Regions from separate parts of the Homo sapiens genome. Here region 2 is linked to region 1. Evidence: promoter capture Hi-C in 16 types of primary human blood cells and fetal thymus (Javierre and others, 2016). All regions are on one chromosome and are shown on one strand. The core of a region is centred on a gene start or on the middle of the fragment in contact, and the rest is flanking DNA. Distances in the headings are between cores, read along the strand shown.

The links. Contacts are between HindIII fragments. The CHiCAGO score rates a contact against its expected background, and 5 or more counts as called.
Region 2: a fragment that was not itself captured here is called in contact with the fragment with the promoter of BDKRB1-AS1 in region 1 in 1 of 17 cell types (endothelial precursors); the score reaches 5.8 in endothelial precursors.

Annotation. Positions count from the first base shown.
Region 1 is chr14:96,265,702-96,271,664 of GRCh38, forward strand. It overlaps BDKRB1-AS1 (BDKRB1 antisense RNA 1), which reads right to left and starts at 2,879. Exons shown (of 2, transcript XR_007064322.1): 1 at 2,668-2,879. RefSeq lists an enhancer at 2,954-4,153. The HindIII fragment of the contact is 7,907 bases long and covers 1-5,963 here.
Region 2 is chr14:95,544,699-95,550,759 of GRCh38, forward strand. GLRX5 (glutaredoxin 5) reads left to right here. Exons shown (of 2, transcript NM_016417.3): 2 at 1-16. Among named protein-coding and RNA genes, the nearest start is that of GLRX5, 13 kb to the left of the region's middle. RefSeq lists a cis regulatory region at 1,121-1,411 and an enhancer at 3,085-3,960. The HindIII fragment of the contact is 930 bases long and covers 2,397-3,326 here.

The DNA of each region.
Region 1 (5,963 bases), core at 1,629-4,128:
AAATATTATAATATAAAAAATGAAATGAGAAATTGCATGAACACACCACGGATCCAGCATCTTGCGCCTTCAGCGAGAAAGGGGATGGGTTCCCTCTCAGGTTAGCAGAGAAGACGCTGTGAAGGGAGTCAGCCGTGAGCCTGGTTTCCACAAAGGGTGCAATCTGGATACGTGGAGACAGGGAGGAAGGGCTGGCAGAGGCGGGAAAGGGTGAGCTGCTCACAAAAGAATGCTTGTGCATGCTCTTATTGAACGTGTAATGCATTGGTGCGGGTCTTGCTATGAGAGACCCAACGGTGAGCCTAACGGTGTCTCTACCCTCCAGGGGCTCACAGCAACCAGGACAATAATTAAGGGATTGTCATAGAGCAGGATGCCCGCCACCATCAGGGTGAGGGGTGCCGTGAGAACCAGAGCAGGGCTCCAGTCTGGGTGGCTGGGAGGGATGGTTAGAGAGGGGTTCCTGGAGGAAGAGACACATAAACTGAATCCCAAAAAATGAGAAGCTGGCCAAGCAAAATGGGGGAAAGGAGTGTTCCAGACAGAAGGAACAAAGTAGGCCCAGAGGCAGGTGGGGTTACAGGTTAGGAGGGAGAGGTTGAAGGATGGCAGAGGAGGAGGCGGGTCATGGAGAGAATTGGGGCTGGAGGAGAATGGACAGGCTGGGTCCACCATGGTCAGCTGGCAAAGACAGTTCACCCAGGAAGGATGGTGGGCTCCAGGCAGCTTTGAGGGCCCCATTGAAGCTGGAAAGCGTGGCTGTGTTGTGTGAATTTACTCTGATAATGCTCGACAGACCCAGGAAAGGATTGCTCTGGAGTAGGGTTTAGCCAGATAGACGGCCATACGTCATGGGAGTTGGGGATCCTGGTCAGACTCGGGGGAATGATGGAGAGGGAAGAAACGAGCACAGGGAGAGAAGGAAGTGAAGTGAGATCAGTGTGTTAAAGGATGGATATAGTGAGAGAACCTGGGTGACAGCAAGAAACAGAAGAAGAGCCAGGCGTGATCTTCTGTACACTGTGAAGGGAATCAGCCGTGAGCCTGGTTTCCACAAAGGGTGCAATCTGTAATCCCAGCACTTTGGGAGGCTGAGACAGGTGGATGGCTTGAGCCCGGGAGTTTGAGACCAGCCTGGGCAACATAGCAAGACCCCGTCTCTACAAAAAATACAAAAATTATCCAGGCGTGGTAGTGCGCACCTGTAGTCCCAGCTACTTGGGAGGCTGAGGCAAGAGGATCATCTGAGCCCAGGAGGTCAGGGCTACAAGCAGTGAGCCAAGATTGTGCCACTGCATTCCAGCCTGGCTGACAGAGTGAGACCCTGTCTCATTAAAAGAGAGAGAGGAAGGCATAGCCACAGAGCAGGAATGTTTGAGTAGAACATTCCAGAGGCAGAGCCATCTCAGGAGATGACAAGGACCAAGTGTATCCCTGGCACCAGGTGGCTGAAGTAGAGGGAAGAAGAAGGAGGTTGGAGACAACATAGAGAATGGAGAGGTCAGGTGGTGGGTGGGCCCTACCTGGGCCCTCACAGGCAGGCGGGACATTGTCAGGCCCTGGGGAGGAGAGAGTCCGTGGGCCAGGAGGCCATTCCAAGGTCAGTTTCCATGGAGTGGGGGAGAGGGTGTAGTGACTGGACTCCAAGACACTTGGGGGAATGGGGAGAATGGCAGTCCCCACAGCTGCACGGGAAGGGCTGGTCCTCACAGAATAGCAGCAAAGACTCATTCATTCCAGGAATGGAAAGAATGCCATGTTCTTGGAGCCTGGAGACAGGGTTTGAGAGGCTGGCAGCGGCTGGGCCACCAGGACCTCATCAGTGATAACCCTGTGATCAGTGTTCCAGCCCCTGCAGGTTTCCTGGAGAGCAGAGTGTCGTCAGAAGGCCTGGAGCTGAGCCAACAGGCAAGATCCAGCCTGCACATGTGTTTAATTTGAACCACATGGTATTTTTTAAAACTCCAAGCCCCCAGGCTCTTGAGTTGGTTACCAGTACTGAAACTCCCCATTGGGAGCCAGCTTTCCAGTTTCTTTTGAAAGTTTGGAACATCCAGCAACACTGATTCAATTTCATTCATTCAGCAGATATTTATTAAGCATCTACTTTGTCAGACACTGTTTTGGGCACTGAAAATATGGCAGTGAACAAAAGAGAGGAACATCCCTGGGCCCTTGGAGTTGACCTTCCAGGGTCCCCCCGGGGCTCCAATTCTTTGGTGCTGTGTAGCAGAGGCCCCGTGAACAGGGCGCCCTCCCATCAGGTTCACACGCATGGAAGCTATGGGAGGTTAAGTTTGCAACCCCTCATCCAGACCATCCCTTCACATACAGTCTAGGAAACAGAGAGCAGTAAGACCTGCCCAAGCACACCCAGTGCGACTCAGCAGCCACACACAGGAGTAGGCTCAGTCATCTCATTTAATCGCCTGACTCCCTTGTGAGGTCTGTTTCAGGATGTCCACTTTCTAGGTGAGGAAGAGGAGGCTAAGGAAGGCAGTGCCTGCTCAGACTGCAGAGGCTGGATTCACCCAACTCATCTGACTCCAACACCAATGTGATTTCCAAGCCCCCAGGCAGGAATTCATTGGGCAAAGGCTCTGTGGCAAAGTGGCAAAAGTAGGCAGGAACAGGCAGGAATAGAGAGTGGGAAAGGGAAAATAATACCTGATTCCTCTTCTATTCCGAGTGAGCTGACCCACATATGCCCTCCTTTCTTCTTTTTCAGCCGGCCTTAAGCAGGTGGCTTATCAAAATCCTTTCGAGGTCTTGCAAAAACCAATCCCACACTCGAGAAGAACGTGCTGGCCGGTGAAATCGGACAACATTGCTCACGGGATGTAATTCAATGGTAGACTGCAGCCACAGCCTGAGAACTCAGACACCTGATTTATGAGACGCACATAAGTAACGTTTACCGAAGCCCAGCAAATGGCCCCACAGTGGGAGAGAAACTGGCAAACCCGTACAGTAGAATTCTGTTGCCCTTCTGTGGGGAAGGCCAGTTATTCATTTACAGAGGGAGAAATTTCTGCCTTGACTAAAAGGATCGATGCTGTGGGAAAAGGTAATATATCTGAGTTCCCATGGATCTGGTTGATAGGTTCACCTGGCGTGTTCCATATGGGGCCAGGCCCAGGCCACACCTGTGGTGCTAACACCTGGGGTGGAGGGAGGAATTAGCAAATAGTCTTCCAGCATCCCCAGCTCCAGCACCCATGTGGGCTTCCACTCTCTCCCTGAGAAGGGCCAAGTAGAAAGAGAGAACAAGGTTTCACTCCAATCCGTTCCCAGCTCTGGGTCTGTCCTGGGCTCCAGAACCGCGTGATCAGGGGCCATATGTGGCCTTCACTGCTCTCTGCAGTGGGAAGGTAAGAAAACTGCCCCCACCCTGCCCCATCATCACCCCAATCCATCATGGGGAGTGGGTGGCACTAAGGCCCTCCAAATCCCAGCCTCGGGGAAACTCCCTGATGTTGCAATGGCCACAGGCAGGCTCTTGCTCTCCGGAGATGAGTCACAAATTTGATGAGGAGCAGGTCGGAAGCAGCCCTGGAAAGTGTTCCTCCCCACCCCTGCTCCCACCACAGCTCCGAGGAGCCTGGGCATCCAACCAGGGCTGATCCAAGCCTTGGCTCCGGCTGAGCTCCGCTCTGGCCTCTGTGCACCTTCAGCTCCTTCCTGCCCTTCTCTTTCCCTGTGCCCAGCCCCTTTCTCCAGACCCCCTTGATTCCTTCTCAGCATCCTCTTGCCTCCCCGGACCACCCCCAGCTCAGGCCCCTGCCCAAGAAGGGCCTCACCGCGGGGCTGCAGAGTGCACAGTGCAGCCGGTCAGAGGTCCAGGTCTCTGAGTCACACATGCCACTGTTCCAGTCCTCACTCCACCACCGCATGGGCCTGGCCGACCACCGAAACTCGGCATCCCATCTGTAAAATGGGAATGAGGAGAGCAGTGCCTCACTGTGTCGTTGTGAAAATTAAGTGACCCAAAAGGACGGCCTTATTCCCTTTTTGGAAAGAGGTAATGGGCAAAGAAAGGGAAGGAAAGGCGAGAAAGGACAAGAGGAAGGTCAGAGATGTATGTGAGACACCAGGACAGCGCCACCCCAGCAAGCACCAACAACCATTTTCTCCTATGAGCAGAAGAGGCTTTAACTATGACTGAAATGAATGCATGTCAAAGCACAGTCTGAATAAAATCCCAAAAATGGTGTCCGTGTCACTCTCCTGGTTGTGATATGGCACGATCCTTGTGTAAGATGTTACTATTGGGGGAAACTGAGTAAAGAATAATGGGGCCGGGCACAGTGCTCATGCCTATAATCCCAGCACTTTGGGAGGCCGAGACAGGCAGATCACATGAGCCCAGGAGTTCAAAGACCAGCCCAGGCAACATGGTGAAACCCTGTCTCTAGTAAAAATACAAAAATTAGCCAGGCATGGGGGTGCACACCTGTAGTATCAGGTACTTGGGAGAATGTGGTGGGAAAATCAGTAGAGCCCAGGGTTCAAGGCTGCAGTGAGCCATGATTGTGCCATTGCACTCCAGCCTGGGCAATAAAGTGAGACCCTGTCTCAGAAAAAAAAAAAAAAAAAGAATGAGTACAAGGCATCTTTCTTATCACTGTATGCAAATCTACTAAAAACCTTAAAAAGAATGCATCATTAAGTTCAACCACTCTGCCTTACAGATGAAGAAACCAAGGTCCAGAGACAAGCAGACTTGTCCAAGGTCACCGAGTAAGCAGGGCTCCTGCTGAAGGGCTCTGTTCAGACCCAAGATGCCCGCTGGGCCCTGGTGACAGGTCTCAGTCTCAGGCTGAGGTCAGAGAAGAGGCCTGAGTGCCAGGGTTCTCATTTGAGTGGCCATGATGATTGCAGAGACTCCCTATGGCCAGGATTGTGTTTAAGGCAGTAAACAGGAAGCCAAGCCTACTTTTCAGGAGCTTCAGGGGACAGAAAACTATCAGGAAGGATTGGTTGGGACCCAGCAAGTACGAGAGGAAGACATTTCAGGGCTTCAGTCAACAAGGGGCTCAGTGTACTGTAGCTGCCAAAATAGCTGCCAGCTCTCAGCTGCATTCAAAGGAGTATAGCCTCTAAAATGAGGAAGGTCATATTCCCTTAATTTAGCACTGGACAGGGTCCATTAGGAGTATTGTGTCCAGCTCTTGGCTGATTCCAAAGACAGGGATCAGACTGGTGAGAGGATGCAACAGCACACCCTCCAGACACATGGCGGCAGAGGGCTTACCACAGAAGATAAGACTTATGTGGAGAGAGGAACAAATGCACTTAGTGTTACCCCAAAGGGACCAAAGAGAAAAAAATCCTGAGAAACACTTTCTGTCTTAATTTAAGGATGGGCTCTTTGACAGGCAGAGCTGTCCCATGATAGAACTGATGGCCCTCAATGACGTGGGTTCCTGGTCTCTGGAGGAGCCCAGCGAAGCTGCAGGATCTCTTGGCAGGAGGCTGCAACAAGAATCCAGGAAGCATCTACTGCACACTCACCCTTGAGGAGCTCACTGCATGTAAGGGAGGCAGAAAAGAAAAGAGATCATTCCTCAGTGTGAGATGTCTCGTCATGGGGTGACGAAGTCTGCTGCAAGGAGTTCCAGAAGGAAAGGGGGTTCCTTGAGCTGGATCTTAAAGTTAAGTAGGACAATGAGAGTGTTGGCCACCTGCAACTTTTCCCTCACGCGAGTTCTCAGCCAACAAAATCAAGGGCTGGAAGATGTATGCCAATCCCAAGGAGTGACTGTTGTCCTCTGGGCCATGTGAGTCAGTGAAGACTGAACAAGGAAGTGGCATGTTTGGAACTGCATTTCAGAGAGATCACTTTCACTAGAATATGGATGATGGCTTGCACAGTGTATCAGTTATCTATGTTGCATAAAAAACCACTCCCACACTTAGTGGTTTAAAACAACCACCTCAACTCATAATTCTGTAATTGGCCA
Region 2 (6,061 bases), core at 1,612-4,111, 720 kb before region 1:
AAATTTGCCACAAGAATTGCCGTCGAGCCCTGGTCTACTTTCTGGGGGAAGCAGCTGTTTGGATGGTGAGTCAACTGTGCAGCTGGAGGCGTGGGTGGGCTGGAGGGAGCAGAGGTGGGTGAGGCCGGAGGAGGCGGCCCCACCTGCCTATCTCTGGAGCCCTGTGCTTGGCACACTGCTACAGTTAGATAGGGAGACATCGTCAACAGTCCACCGAGCTAGGGGATTTAATGAGTATTTTACTTCTTAAAAAGTGGGGACTTTCTAAAAGAGGACATAATTTGGAATTGTGGCAGAGATTCTCCCAGTGTCTGGTGTCTTTATAAGACCTTTCCATGAGTTCTGCATCCCGAGACTGGGGCCTGGTAGAGCCTGGGGCTGTGCAGAGGCCCATGGGAAGGAAGCCCGCCTGGTGTGGCATGGAGGCTTTGTTCATCTCCAGGGACTTAAAGAGAGCGCTTGTCTAGAAACATATCTTTACGGTGGCAGAGGTGGGAAGAAGGATGCATTTTCTCATAATAAGGGCAAAAAGGACAGAACGGCTCTTTTCCCCAGAGCTATTCTAGAGGCTTGTTCTTCGTTGCTTATTTAATCTCCTTGAGTTCCTCTCGAGAATACTCTAAAAACAGACTTCCTCCATGAGGTCAGGCTAGAACTGATGGAGTTGCCCCTGCTCCCCTTCCCCAGAGGTTTTGGAAGGGGAAGGAAAGCTGTAGCCCCACGCCCCCACCCTGGGGACTGCCCCATCAGATTAGAGCACTGCTCCTCAGCAGTCACCCACCTCACCGTGTTAGAGAAAAGAAAAATAGATTATTCTCAGAAAAAGGTTATTACATTAATTGTCTGCTACATCCCATGATACCTTTATGTCTTCTGTAAGCTAAGGGACCTTAGGATCTAAGAGGAGGTTAAAACACATCCATTTGAGCCATTTGGTTTAGAAATGAGGGAAGCAGGAGCACTAGAAGGATCTACCTTGCCCTGTAGACAGAGTCACCATGAATAAGTCACTTCATACTGCCTCTGGATGGATACAGGCCGTGGACCAGAGGCCGGGTCTGCAAAATTGTCCCTTGCCATCACATCTAGTGAGGAGTGTGATACGTTTTCACAATTTTGCTTCTTTTGGCTTTTCCTTGAATCTGCCTGTGTGCCCTTAGGTTTCATCTGAAAAGCGAAATGATGAGAAACTTATTGATGGGAAGCATCAATGTAAGAAACCTCTCTAGAATATGATTGGAGCTAGGAAAAGGCTGCCAAGTGAATAATTTGACTCATGCTTATGAGTCATAGTGAGATCATATCAAAGTCACTAGGGAACTTATAAGTTGAAGGAATCACTGGGCTCTACGAGGAATGTAAGTCTTCTTTCTCAGAGTTAATTAATAATTTTTTTCTATATGCCTAACAAATCTCTACCAAGTAGAAAATTGAAGATGCTATCTAGTGTAAGTCTGAATAATTTTGATGGTCTGCATAATTAGAATTCACTGTGAGAATTAGAGCAGAGACACAGAGGTTCCTTGTGCAAACAGCAGTATCACGCACCTATTTAAAATGCAAGGACTGCTTCTCGGGTTTAAATGCACCTATTTAAAATACATTAGGCCTGTATTAGTGTGATTATATTGGATATTTGTCATAGCTTCAGGGTCTGTGTGATTAGACCCTTAGAAATCAAGTTATTTTAGAAGATTAAACATTTTATGATTTCAGGTAGTTTTTATTTTTTTCATGGATTGGTAGTTACATAAATGGCATTCTGCTTCATTAAGCTATGAGTTTTAGAGATATCTTAGGACAGAAGATAACTTTTAAGTTGGGTTTCGTTTTGTTGGCAGTGTTTAATTCACTTGTGTAGAATCTGGGAACCGAAGCTTTCCTTTAACTTTTCAAGCCATAGCAGCCAGCTTAAGAGAGAATTCTTGTTACATTTGTTAGGTTTACTTAGATATTTTGACATAAATTATATTTTGAGAAATCAGGTCCCTTGTTTGTGACAGGAGGGACTGTGCTAAGGGTAGAGGAATGACTTGTGTCGGCAAGGTTTCATTGGTGCAGATTGATTGATTGATTGATTGATTGATTGATTGAAAAAGGGTCTTGCTCTGTTGCCCATGCTGGCGTGCAGTGGCCTGATTATGGCTCACTGCAGCCTTGACCTCCTGGGCTTAAGCAATCCTTCCCACTCAGCCTCCTGAATAGCTGAGACTTCAGATGTGCACCACAACACCTGGCTAATTTTTTTATTTTTTAGAGACAGGGTCTCTGTGTTGCCCAAGCTGGTCTTGAACTCCTGGCTCAAGCGATCCTCCCACTCTGGCCTCCCAAAGTGTTAAGATTACAGGCATGAGCCACTGCGCCCAGCAGAAACAAATTTAAATGTGAGGTGAGAAAGCTTTCATGTGGGTTCCTGAGAGCCACCGACAGGAAAAGATATATATTAGGGGATGGCCACACAAAACACTGATTGTTTTAAAAATTTAACATTCCACTTAAGAATTGTTTAGTAAATCTAAAAAGCAGCTTTAAATTGTGCCTAAGAACCATATAATAGCTACTATGAAGCAGAGCAGAGGAATGGTGAAGAGAAAAGCCATTTTAAGGTCCAGGGGCTTACAGAGACGCATGGGGTGACCAGGTGGACTCTTGTAAAGCCACATTCCTGTCTTATTTCCTGAGAGTAGCATCACTTTAGGTCTGAAAGCTATGTGGGCATTTTGCGTGAGGGGAGCATTGTTTTCTTGGCGGTTGCCCTGGGAGCCCAGTGCAGGTGAGCTGAGGGCAGAGTCTCCCTTAGGGCAGAGATGCCACTGAAGGTGCACCTCACCTCAAAGATCCCTATCCTGGATTCAGTCAGAATAGCCATGTTATTCTCCTCCTTGTGAACCTCCCGGGGCACCCGGTTGTGTCACAGTGAAGTCTCTCCTATCCCAGAAAGCCTTCCCTGACCCCAGACGGAACAGACCCTTTAATCCACTCTACAGCCCTGTTCTTTGTTCATCACTCCAGGACCTAACTGCCTGTTACTTGGCTTTATTCAGATCCCCTCTGGCCAGCATACAGAGTGCCCCAAAAAATACATTTAGAAAAGAGTGAAGAATTTCCTTTCTTCATTCCTTTTGGATTAGTCACAAGAAATGTTAGGCTATTACAGGTTACAGCCTCGCAACACCGCAGTAGCTAAGAGCCGGGACTCAAGTCACCCTCCCTGGGTTTGCATCCCAGCACTTGCTGGGTGTGCTACTGACCTCAGACGACTTAGTAACCTCCCTTCCTGCTTAAGTGGGCAAATAGCAGATGCCACCGACCTCAGGCGTGTTACAAGCTTAGATGACAGCACCCTGTCGAGACCATGGCTCATAATGAGCTCTCACTGTAAGTTGACCTTGACAGTTAATGTTGGATTACACCTGGACTTGGTACCGCGCTGTGGTATCCACCACCGTTCGGAGGGTTTAAGGGAGCAGAGAAGGACAGGCTGATGAACACAACATCGTTCATGTTTGGTTGCCCCTGGAACATAGAGACTCATTGTTGAAGGCAAAGGACAGATCTAATCCTTGTGATGATCTATCAGTGGACTGCCCAGCAGCCCTAGGGGACGGCAGGGCCTTCAGCCAGAAAGAATTCCCTGTAAAGTATCTTTCCTACGATTATAGTTTGACTTACTGCCACCGAGTTTTATTTTTAAAAATACTGCTTCTATTTCATACCAAAGTGGAGAGTCTTTTCTGAACCGATATGTTAGACAGTTATTGTGTTGAGTTATGCTTCAAAGAATGCAGTTTAACCTTGAGCTAATTCTAATTTAGCAGTAGCAAGGATTGTGACACTGGGTTCTACTGTACCTCATTAGCCATTTTCACAGGGATTCGTTTTGCCAGAAAAAGGAGGTAGAAATGTTCGCCGGTTCCTAGGAAATTTGGTGAGCAAATATGGAAAGTATTTCCAGATTATTGATGTGTCTTCACTAGTCCTGAGCAAGCTATCAGCTTTGATCATCACCACCACCGATGAAGCAACCTTCCTGGGGAGGCCATGCTGAGCCCGAGTCTATGGGGACCTCTTCTGGCTCCAGACCCAGGCTGGGCAGAGGCTGAGACTTCAGCTGGGTGTCAGATACCCCTCACCCCTTGCCCTGATCTTGGGGGCGTTAGGGTGCTGTCAGAGTCTGACATAGGTATTAAAATATTTCAAATCTCAAGGAGAACTTCAGAGTTCTTCAGTACATTTACAAGTAAATTGTAATCCTGGGAAACTAGCAGCACACTTCCTGTTATTCTGGCTTCTTAAATTCTTTTGTTTTTTGTTTGTTTTTGAGATGGAGTCTCTCTCTGTTACCCAGGCTGGAGTGCAATGGCGCGGTCTCGGCTCACTGCAGCCTCTGCCTCCTGAGTTCAAGCTATTCTCCTGCCTCAGCCTCCTGAGTAGCTGGGATTACAGGCACCTGCCACCATGCCCAGCTAATTTTTTGTATTTTTAGTAGAGACGGGGTTTCACCATGTTGGCTAGGCTGGTCTCAAACTCCTGACCTCGTGATCCACCCGCCTGGGCCTCCCAAAGCCCTGGGATTACAGGCATGAGCCACCGCGCCTGGCCTTTAAGTTGTTTTTTAACTTTTTTCCATGATTCCTTAGTAAAGTCTCCTTAAAATGATTCTTGGGAGAGCAGAGGGCAAGGGGCAGTGTCAGTTACACCTGACTAAGTTACTTCAGTTCAGGTGCACTTCGTACAAAGTGTGGTGGGATGTCCATGTCCTAATCCCTGGAATGTGTGACTGTGTTACCTGGGGTAAGTTTAAGCTGTGTTTAAGTTCAGGATCTTGAGATAGAGAGATTGTCTTGGATCACCTGGGTGGGCTTAATGTAATCACAGGTGTCCTGGGCAGGAGGGAAGCAGAGGTTGGAGTGATGTACTCTGAAGAGGGCGGAAGGGGCCACAGGCCAAAGATCGCAGGCAGTCTCTAGAGCTGGAAAAGCCAAGGAAACGGATTCTCCCCTGGAGTCTCCAGAAAGAACACAGGCCATGATTTTAGCCCAGTGAAAGTCATTTTAGACTTCTGACCTCCTGCCCTGTAAGATTAAAAATTGGTGTTAAGCCACTAAGCTTGTCATTTGTTACAGCGGCAAAAGGAGACTAATACACCTGGCTGCCTGGATTTTATGGTGGATGCTTACTTGGTATAAGCAGACAGGGGGAAGGGTCAAACAATTATTGAGCATTTAGATCCGTAATTTGTTTCTCACCAAAGATCTGCAAATGTGGGATATTCTCTCTTCCTTTCAGATGATGACACAGAGACTGGGAGGGGGTCAGGTTACTTGTCCAAGGTCACTACCTGGTGGAATTTGAGCTGTGATCAGATCCATATTGTAGCACCCTTCGGAGGGCCGGCTCAGTGAGTGCAGCCGCTTAGTGCAGCTCTGGCTGTGGTGTCCAGAGTGTTCGCCCTGCAGCCCTGAGAAGAACTGAATTTGAGCTTCAGTTGCCTGTTGAAAGAGCCAGGGAGGCCAGGAATTTTGGAAGTTGCCCCTGGCCATCCACTATCAAGTATGTGAAGGAAGCAGAGGGTCCCACCTCTGAGGTCAGACAAATGGAAGGTGAATGCAAATGATGCCTCCTTGCAAATGATGCCAGGGAAAGCCTCCTGGGCCCCGTGTGTTGTGCGGACAGGTGGCCAGGCCAGAGGTCCCACTGGACTTCACTCTGAAATTCCAGACAGCAGGAAGTAAACAAAGTGCTTTACGAGCGAGTTCCCGCGGTCTGCTGGTCTTTCCCTGCACTTCCGTCCGACCTCGGTCACAGCCCTGGGTGGGGTCAGATATTTCTACCCATACTCAGGGCCACCTGTTGCCCCAAGTTCTCACTTCCTGGCAGTGTCCCTCTGCTAGCCCTTGCTGCTGCCCCCACCTTCCTCTGTCTGCCCGCCACCCCCCAGCCTTTTCCTTGGTCACAGTTGTCCTTTTGTTACCTGCGGTTATCAGAAACATGGTCAAATAGGGTATAAGCTTTTAGTATCCCATTCATTTGAAATTTTAACCTCGTTTTTAATAAAACA